Linked DNA regions of Homo sapiens: all the other regions are linked to region 2. Evidence: promoter capture Hi-C in 16 types of primary human blood cells and fetal thymus (Javierre and others, 2016). All regions are on one chromosome and are shown on one strand. Each heading gives the region's core, a stretch centred on a gene start or on the middle of the fragment in contact. The rest is flanking DNA. Distances are from core to core; before and after follow the strand shown.

Region 1 (2,700 bases), core at 58-2,557, 470 kb before region 2:
CTCACTCATAGGTGGGAACTGAACAATGAGAACACTTGGACACAGGAAGGGGAACATCACACACTGGGGCCTGTCGTGGGGTGGGGGGAGGGGGGAGGGAGAGCATTAGGAGATATACCTAATGTAAATGACGAGTTAACGGGTACAGCACACCAACATGGCACATGTATACATATGTAACAAACCTGCACGTTGTGCACATGTACCCTAGAACTTAAAGTGTAATAAGAAAACATTTAAAAAAGAAAAGAAAATAGAATAGCCAAAACAATTTTGAAACAAGAAATATAGTTGGAAGAATGACATTAGCTGACTTTGAGACATTCCATAAAGCGACAGCAATGTAGACAGTGTGGTATGGGCAGAGGGGTAGACACACAGATCAAGGGAAAAGCACGGAGTTGAGATGTCACTCGCACACACAAGACTGCGCTAATTTATGACAAAGGGGCAAGACAACTAAATGGAGAAGTGTCTGCTGCAATCACAAAATACCTGTGACTGGGTATTTTACAAACAATAGAAGTACATTTCTCACAGTTTTGGAGGCTAGACGTCCCCAGATCAAGGTGCCAGTATTCTGCATCTGGTGGAGGCTCTTTGCTGTGTCCTTTTGGTGGAAAACATAAGGGGCAAAAAGGACCCAAGCTCATCCCCCCCAGCCCTTTAATGAGGCACTAATCTATGCCTGAGAGCAAAGCCCTGACTTGATCACTTCTCAAGAGACCCCACCTCTTAGTAACACCATAACAGGGGTTAAGTTACAGCGCATGAATTTTGGGGAACGCATTCATACCAGCGCGCGAAAGGAGAACCGTTTCCAAAAAATGGCATTGGAACAATTGAACCGCCGTAGACAAAACGAAAACAAAACCTCAACCTCAACCTCATACTTTATATAAAATTAACTCTATGCCCATCATAGACCTAAATGTTGAATATAAAACAATAAAACATTTGGAATAAAACAGGAGAAAGTCTTAGTGACCTTGAATAATAAAAACACACTGTGTAAGAAATAATAATGTGAGTGAAATTCAGTGTCCTTTAAAGATAAAAGGTCACGTCATAAGGAGAGAGACACACTTGGCAGTGCTCCTGGTTGCTGGTGGAGGACCAAGTGAGTCCTTATTTAGAAGGGACATTTTTTTTTTCTGTGCCATTTTCTTCATCGAACATTTAGTCCTTTGAAAGCTTGTGATTATCTTATGTTCAAATGCTATGAAATAATAAAGTCACAGGGCAGTCCCACTGCAGCGTGACAATGAGGGGGAACTCCAGAGATCCACTTCCATGTGAAACTGGTGAAGACTTTAAAAACAAAAACAAACGAAACCCCACCCCCAACAACCATTTAAAGCATCTGCAAATGGCCCTGTAGCCATTTCAAATAGAGAAACATTTATTCAAGAAAATCGACTAAAGCTTAGTGAGAACTGTGTGAGTCTGTGGTATCTGAGCCAATGCGTGTGCCCTCTCCCAGCCCAGTGAGACAGAAGCTCCACTCCAGGCTGTACAGCCAGGAATGCAAGACTATCTCTCCTCCAGTTTCTGTAATTGCCCGACAGGCTCTTCCCGCCCGCTGCACAGACAAAACCAGTTCACTCTGAGAACATGGTATTGCAGTAAATGAAATGTTTAATTAACGCAAGGCCTGCCAGGTGGAAGAACTGGAATGATCACTCAAACCCGTCTCCCTGAAGGCTTGAAGGTTAGGGTTTTTCCAGGACAGTGTGGTGGGTGGGGGGCTGGGGAATGGGTGCTCCTCATTGGTTGCGGGGGCAATCACAGGGGTGTGGAAAATGGTCCTTGTGCCCTGAATCTGCCTCTGGGTGGATAACAACCCCAAAGTGAAAGCAACCCAGACATCCTTCAACGGGTGAACGGTTAAACAAGTCGTGAGTCACGAGTCTGCATGGGGTCAGTTGGAAAACCACCTCAAAAGACCAATCTTAATTCTACCACAGTGATATTATCTATAGGAGCAACTGGGGAAGCCACAAATCTTGTGATCTCTGGACAAATGACTCCTAAGCAGAGGGGGATTATAGAAACTATGCCTATATTTTAGCAGAACTCATGCCCTCCTGTAATTCTAATCTTGTGGTCTTTCATTAGTCCTATAAAGGCAGTTTCAGCTCCCCAAAAAGGAGGGGATTTGTTTTAGGGCGGGACCGTTATCATCCTTGCTTACAAGTTAAACTATAAACTAAATTCCTCCCATGGATATAATAGAGGCAGGAGGCAGACAAATCCCAGGCAGATGGGGGTGGGTCCCCAGTGAAACCTCACCTTCAAGCCAAAACATCCTGAAACCTGCAGCCCAGAGTGAAAACTTCTATTCTTGTTTGCCTGCTCGCTCCGGATTGGTTCATTTTGAATAATGCCTTTTTAACCAATCAAATACTGCCTTTTCCAATACTACCTATGGCCTGGCCTGCCCCCGTCCTGGGCCTATAAAGACTCCAGACTCAGTTGGTAGAGAGAGAGAGAAGGCCTGACTTCAAGGAAGAGATCTCCTGACTTTGGGGAAGACGACCTGCCCTCCCTGTCCCCTTTCCAGTTCCCCTCTCTGCTGAGAGCTGTTTTCATTGCTCAGTAAAAGTCTCCACTTTCACCATCCTTCAATCACCAGCATGACCTCATTCTTCTTGGACGCTGGACAAGAGCTCAGGACCCACAGAGTGCAGGTACCTAGAA
Region 2 (2,700 bases), core at 171-2,670:
CCACCCCGCAGGCGCCCGCTCCTGGCTGCCTTGTCATCCCTCCACCCTTTGTCATAGCTCTGGGCGCAGGTGTCTCTCCCTGGGCTCAGCGCCTCTGACCCCTCGATCCCAGAGCCGTCCCAGGCCTGGACAGAGGGGGACTTGGCAGACACCTGGGGCTCATCCCTTGGAGCTGAACTCCCAAGAAGGCTCTGGGCCCCTTGTAAGAGAAGAATCAGCTTCATCCTGAGCTTCCAGGGTTGTGGAACATGAAGGGGAGCAGCAGAAGCCCCTCCCAGAGTCCCCTCTTACTTACCCTTGGGGTGGGGGTGTAGGATGCAGCTGGGGCTGCAGTTCCAGGCCACGGAGAGCCTGTGAGGCTGGGCCCCGGGGCGCCCTGGGGAGGGGATGCCTGATGGGGAGCCTGGTGGGGGAGGGTAGGGGAGGGCGGGGGAGGACGGGGGAGGGCGCCCTGTGTCCCTGAGAAGGTACCTGGAAATGACACTGCTACAACTCACACCACATTTCAATCAAGGTCCATAAATAAAAACCCATTTTAAATGTGCCAGGGAGCCCAAGGTTCTGAGTGCCCAAGGAGGCACCGAAGACCCCTCCTGTGGGCTGAAAAGCTCCCGATTATCCAGCCTGGCCCACACAGTCCCCTGTACACAGGGCTTCCGAGTGCAGGTCACAGGGAACACAGACTCCATGGTGAATGAATGAATGAATGAATGAATGAATGAGGGAAATAAGGGAGGAACAGGCCAATGGGAATCACCCCAGAGCCCAGATACCCTTTGAATTTTGCCCCCTATTTGCCCAGGACCCCCCACCATGAGCTGCTGCTAGAGCCTGGGAAGGGCCTTGGGGCTGCCTCCCCAAGCAGGCAGGCTGGTTGGGGTGCTGACTAGGGCAGCTGGGGCAGAGGGAGGCAGGGGCAGGTGGGAGTAGGGTGGGGGCTGGGTGCAGCAGCCGGGGACCTCTGGCCATCTTGGATTTTTTGGATGGATTTGTTTCCACATTCCGATCGTTAAGATTCAAGATGAAACAAGACACAGAGACCCACACGACCCCCGAGAGAGGTCGGCCTAAGAGGGGCACACACAGGGACAGGCATCACCTCACCCTCCCCCAACAGGGACTCAAACACCAGGCACAGGGGATGCCGCTGTGCCCAGGCCTCCACATCCACGCCGCGTCCCAGGGGTTTGCATGGACCCTGAGCCTGGGGCTGCCAGCCAGGCTGGGGAGTAGCAGAGGCAGCTGGCACCAGCCCTGGGCTCCGGTCCACTGCGGCCGCCGGGCACCTACCTGCCCTCTTACCATGATGGCCTCTGCCTGCTTGGCGTCCAGCTCAGACACGGCCCTGCGGAAGCCCTTGGCCTGTGGCGTGGTGGCGTCGGGGGTGGGCATGGCTCAGTGTGGAGGTCCGGGCTCCGTCTCCACAGCCCTGGCCCAGCAGCCTCTTATAAGCTGAGCTGACGTCAAAGCCCCCTCTGGGTCCCCCACCTTCCCCTCCTTACATCCCCCACCCCTGCCTGCTGTGCCTGATGGAGGCGGGGGTGGGTGAGGAAGGAGGGAGGCGCAGGAGAAAGGGCTCGTCCGTGGAATCTAATTGCCTTCACTCCCCAGCCCTGTCTGAATCATCCTCAGCCCGCGGGCTTGCGGGGACCAGGGGCTCGTGCTCTGCGGGGGGCTGAGACAGCCAGGGTCCCCTTGGCCCCACAGCCCTCAAGAGAGCACACAGGGAGGGGCTTTCTGGCAGCCCAGGGGCACACTTTTAATGAACACCAGAACCTCGTGGCAGACCGACCCAGAAAGCCCCAAGACGGGGAATCCAGCCTCCAGCCTCAGATGTCAGGAGGCAATTTGTTTGCTTCTCCAGAAGATTCCAGGCCGTGTGTCTCATAGACGTGGTTCCTAGGAGTGCCATCTGCCCACAGCCCCCGGGCCCTGCAGGTGTGGCCCTTGCAGCGGCTTCCCAAGCTCGCCCCGTGGGGTCCAGAATGTCCCAGGAGGGCCCACCTGTCCAGTGTGGAGGACCCTGGGAGGCTGAAGAAGACATCTCTAAGGAGACGCCACGCGTTTCCAAATGGCTGCCACCTCCTGCATCACAGTCCCCACCAGGGTTGCCAGGGCGACCAGGGCCAGGGACGGCTTCCACCCACCCCACTCAGCCCCTCTATGGCCCACTGCTAGCTCCTGGCTTCCCTCGGGGTCCTGTGGCCCCTTCTTTAAAGAGCACGCACGTCCCTCAGTGCTGAGGGCCCTGATGCCTTCCCCTTGGAGAGACCTTTGCAGTTTCTCCTCTACCCCACCAGGCCCCGGGTTGAGGGTGACCCTGGGGTGACCTGAGAACTCCCTTGAGGACAACCCCAGCCTAGAGCCTCCCCCAAGTTCCATGTCCGCCCCGCAGGCACCCGCATCCAGCCCACGCCCACTGGCACCTCCTGCTCCCAGCCGCTGCCCCACCCAGGGAGAGTGATGCCCCTGCCCAGGGTGGCTTCTGGCCCTTCTGGTGGAAGGGGAGGCCTCCCCATCCCTCTGGGGTCAGCAGAGATGGCCAGAGCCTGCCTTGACAATGCTGGACTGTACAGAGGGAAGGACGTGGCCCCAGAGTGCATGGCCTGCGGCTGAACGCTGCCACCGCTGTCCCTCCTGGAGAAGAACCGTTTCCGACAGGGCTTGGGGCTTCCTGTATCTGCTGGGCTTTCTGGTGTT
Region 3 (2,700 bases), core at 201-2,700, 340 kb before region 2:
CCCCTGTGTTCTGGGGACAGGCTGGGCTTCCCAGGCCATGCTGGCCTCCAGAGCCACAAAACTAGAGCTCCCAGCCTCGGTCCACTCGTCTGTAAAACACCTGGCCTGCTGACCTCACAGGGTCAACATGCGTGTGGGGCTGGAACCTGGACCCTCCCTCCCCTCCTTGAGCTGCAGCCCCCTCATCTGAACACTGGGGGTTTGGGTCCGTTCTGGGAGTGCAGCTGCCTCTCCCAGCCTGCCAGGGAGTGGGGCATTGATGCTGTGTGCGCGTGCGTGTGTGTGTGTGTGTGTGTGTGTGTGTGTGTGTGTGTGTGTGTGTGTCTGGAGTCATGGCAGGGTCCCTTTCTGTCTGTCTCCTTGCTCTGCCCCAGACTGGGGGGCTGCAGAGGTGAGGGTATCTGGCCTCAACAGCTGCTTATTCCCGATGGGATGGCCTGGGCTGGGCCCCTGAGGCCAGGCTGACTTGGACATGGCAAGAGGGGTCCCAGGCTCTTGTGGGCAAAGCAGGGGAGGCGCCAATGTGGAGGAACAGAGTCTCCTGGCTGGCTGCTGCTCTCTGGAGCGGGTGGAGTCAGGGAAGAGCTGAGCTGGGGAGTCACCCTGGGCCTGGGGTCACCGTAGGCCCCATGTAGCACCCTGGTTCCCCTGCCTGTAGGTGACAGGAGCCAGCCCAGCCAGGTGTGCTCCCTCCCCAGGCCCTAGGCAGGCGGGTACAGGGGCCAGCAGCTGCGCCCGCCCCACCTTCCTTCCCACCCACATGCCGAAGGGTGGCCAGGCAGGCAGGTGGACGAGTCCAGGCAGCGGCTGAGTCAGTGTGTGTGGAATGTTCTGGCCGCTCCCAGCTGCACCCTGCCCCTACCTGCCACCACCTCACCTTCATCCTCAGGCGCTGCGGCCCTGAGCCCCTGCCAGGAATGCACCTTTAGCCCAGGCCTGCTCAGTGAGCTCCGCCGACAGCCAGCCCTGCTCCTCCCGCCATGACCCTGCAGACCCCTCTGGGCTTCCAAGTTCCTGGGGGCTGCAGTGAACATGCTCCACCTGCATGGCTGGCAAACCATGGTGGGCCCCAGCTGTGGTGCGTGCTGGGGTAGAGGCAAGGAAGTGATGGGACCGCAGAGATGAGACCCCCAGGGATGAGATGGGACCCCCAGGCAGGGCCCAGGGTCCAGGGCCCAGGAGAGAGAAGCAGGGAGGGAGAGAGCTTCCTGGTGGAGGACGCATCCTACAGTGGGGGCAAGGGTGCTCTGAGGTCCGGTGAAGGCAGGGACTAGGCTGCCCAGGCCCTGCCTGCTTGGCTGGGGCTGGGGGCTGCTGGGAGGTGGCTGGGAGGCTGGGCCTGGGCAGCTAAGCTGGAGCTTTGGCCAGGGTCCAGAGCCTCCCTCCCTTCAGCTTCCTGCTGCACAGAACCCTCGCCCCTGGCCACCCCGTGCTGCCTCCTTGCCCTGGCAGACCCAGCACTGGCTGCTGCTAGTCAGATGGGGTAGCGGGCAGGGGCCGGAGGGGCCACCCTCCCAGCTGACCCAGCCTCCTGGGCCGCTTCTTCCAAACCAGCAGGGTAGAAAGATGGGGCACCCACCAGTCTCTCCCAGTGCCCCGGCCCCAGCTGGCACCACAGCTATACCTGGGCTTATTCCAGACCTTGTCGCCGGGACCCCCTGTGAGTTGTGGGATTCCCAAGAGGGGTGTGGGGATAACCCAGCCAAGTGGGGGCTGCAGCTGTCCACAGATGCACTCAGCCTGGCCTCTACCCCAGGGCCCCGCTGGGCTCTCATTGCCGGCGCCCTTGCCGCGGGCGTCCTCCTCGTCTCCTGCCTCCTCTGTGCTGCCTGCTGCTGCTGCCGCCGCCACAGGAAGAAGCCCAGGGACAAGGAGTCCGTGGGTCTGGGCAGTGCCCGCGGCACCACCACCACCCACCTGGTGAGGAGCGGCTCCTTGCTCACTCAGTCCAGAGAGGGCTTGAAATCCAGGCTCCAGAGCCCAGGGCAGCGAGGCGAGTTCAGCCCCAGGGATGGTTTAACCCCCACAGAGGCAGGGCGTTGAGGACCTTCCTGGCAGGGAAAGTGGGTGAACAGAGGTGAGAAGGAGGCCATGCAACAGGGGCTGCCCCATGGGCCCGAGGGAGCCACAGCGGGTTCTTGAGGAAGGCAGGGGGTACCCCAGATGCCACGTTTTGGGTGGGTTTGGCCGGTCTCACAGAGCGAAGCCGACGATTTGTGCCTGTTGGGTGGCCTGGCCTGGAGGCGGGGGGTCTTGACCCATGTCATGCAAGGGCTGCCCGGGAGCCCAGGGCTCTGATGAGGCATGATGTCAGCACCACCTGCCCCTTGTCCCAACTCACTCCAGGTGCAACCTGATGTGGATGGCCTGGAGTCCAGCCCGGGGGATGCTCAGCAATGGGGGTGCCTGCAGCTCTCCCTGGAGTTCGACTTTGGAAGCCAGGAGGTGAAGGGCCCCGCTGCGCAGGACCAGCGGTTCTGCGAGTTTCCGGAAAGGGTGACGGGGGAAGGGCAGACCCCATGCCCTGGGTGGTGGGGAGCTGACAGGGCAGGGGCCCTTGGCTGAGCCCACCCCGCTGGCTCCCAGATCAGGGTGGGCCTGAGGCAGGCAGCCGACCTGAGGCCTGGGGGCACCGTGGACCCCTATGCCCGGGTCAGCGTCTCCACCCAGGCCGGACACAGACATGAGACAAAAGTGCAC

Evidence for each region. The method cuts DNA at HindIII sites, captures the fragments that hold promoters and counts their contacts. A CHiCAGO score of 5 or more calls a contact.
Region 1: a fragment that was not itself captured here is called in contact with the fragment with the promoter of TH in region 2 in 3 of 17 cell types (M1 macrophages, naive B cells and monocytes); the score reaches 6.9 in M1 macrophages.
Region 3: a contact is called between the fragment with the promoter of SYT8 here and the fragment with the promoter of TH in region 2, in 1 of 17 cell types (endothelial precursors). The highest score is 5.7, in endothelial precursors.

The regions. Positions count from the first base shown.
Region 1 is chr11:1,704,048-1,706,747 of GRCh38, forward strand. No RefSeq gene overlaps it. Among named protein-coding and RNA genes, the nearest start is that of KRTAP5-6, 8.2 kb to the left of the region's middle. The HindIII fragment of the contact is 231 bases long and covers 1,193-1,423 here.
Region 2 is chr11:2,170,395-2,173,094 of GRCh38, forward strand. It overlaps TH (tyrosine hydroxylase), which reads right to left and starts at 1,421. Exons shown (of 13, transcript NM_000360.4): 1 at 1,303-1,421. The coding sequence starts at 1,392. MIR4686 (microRNA 4686) reads left to right here and starts at 2,669; the gene lies at 2,669-2,700. The HindIII fragment of the contact is 9,589 bases long and covers 1-2,700 here.
Region 3 is chr11:1,833,540-1,836,239 of GRCh38, forward strand. It overlaps SYT8 (synaptotagmin 8), which reads left to right and starts at 1,451. Exons shown (of 8, transcript NM_001394072.1): 1 at 1,451-1,660; 2 at 1,757-1,920; 3 at 2,347-2,445; 4 at 2,587-2,700. The coding sequence starts at 1,567. RefSeq lists enhancers at 1-27, 28-641. The HindIII fragment of the contact is 25,919 bases long and covers 1-2,700 here.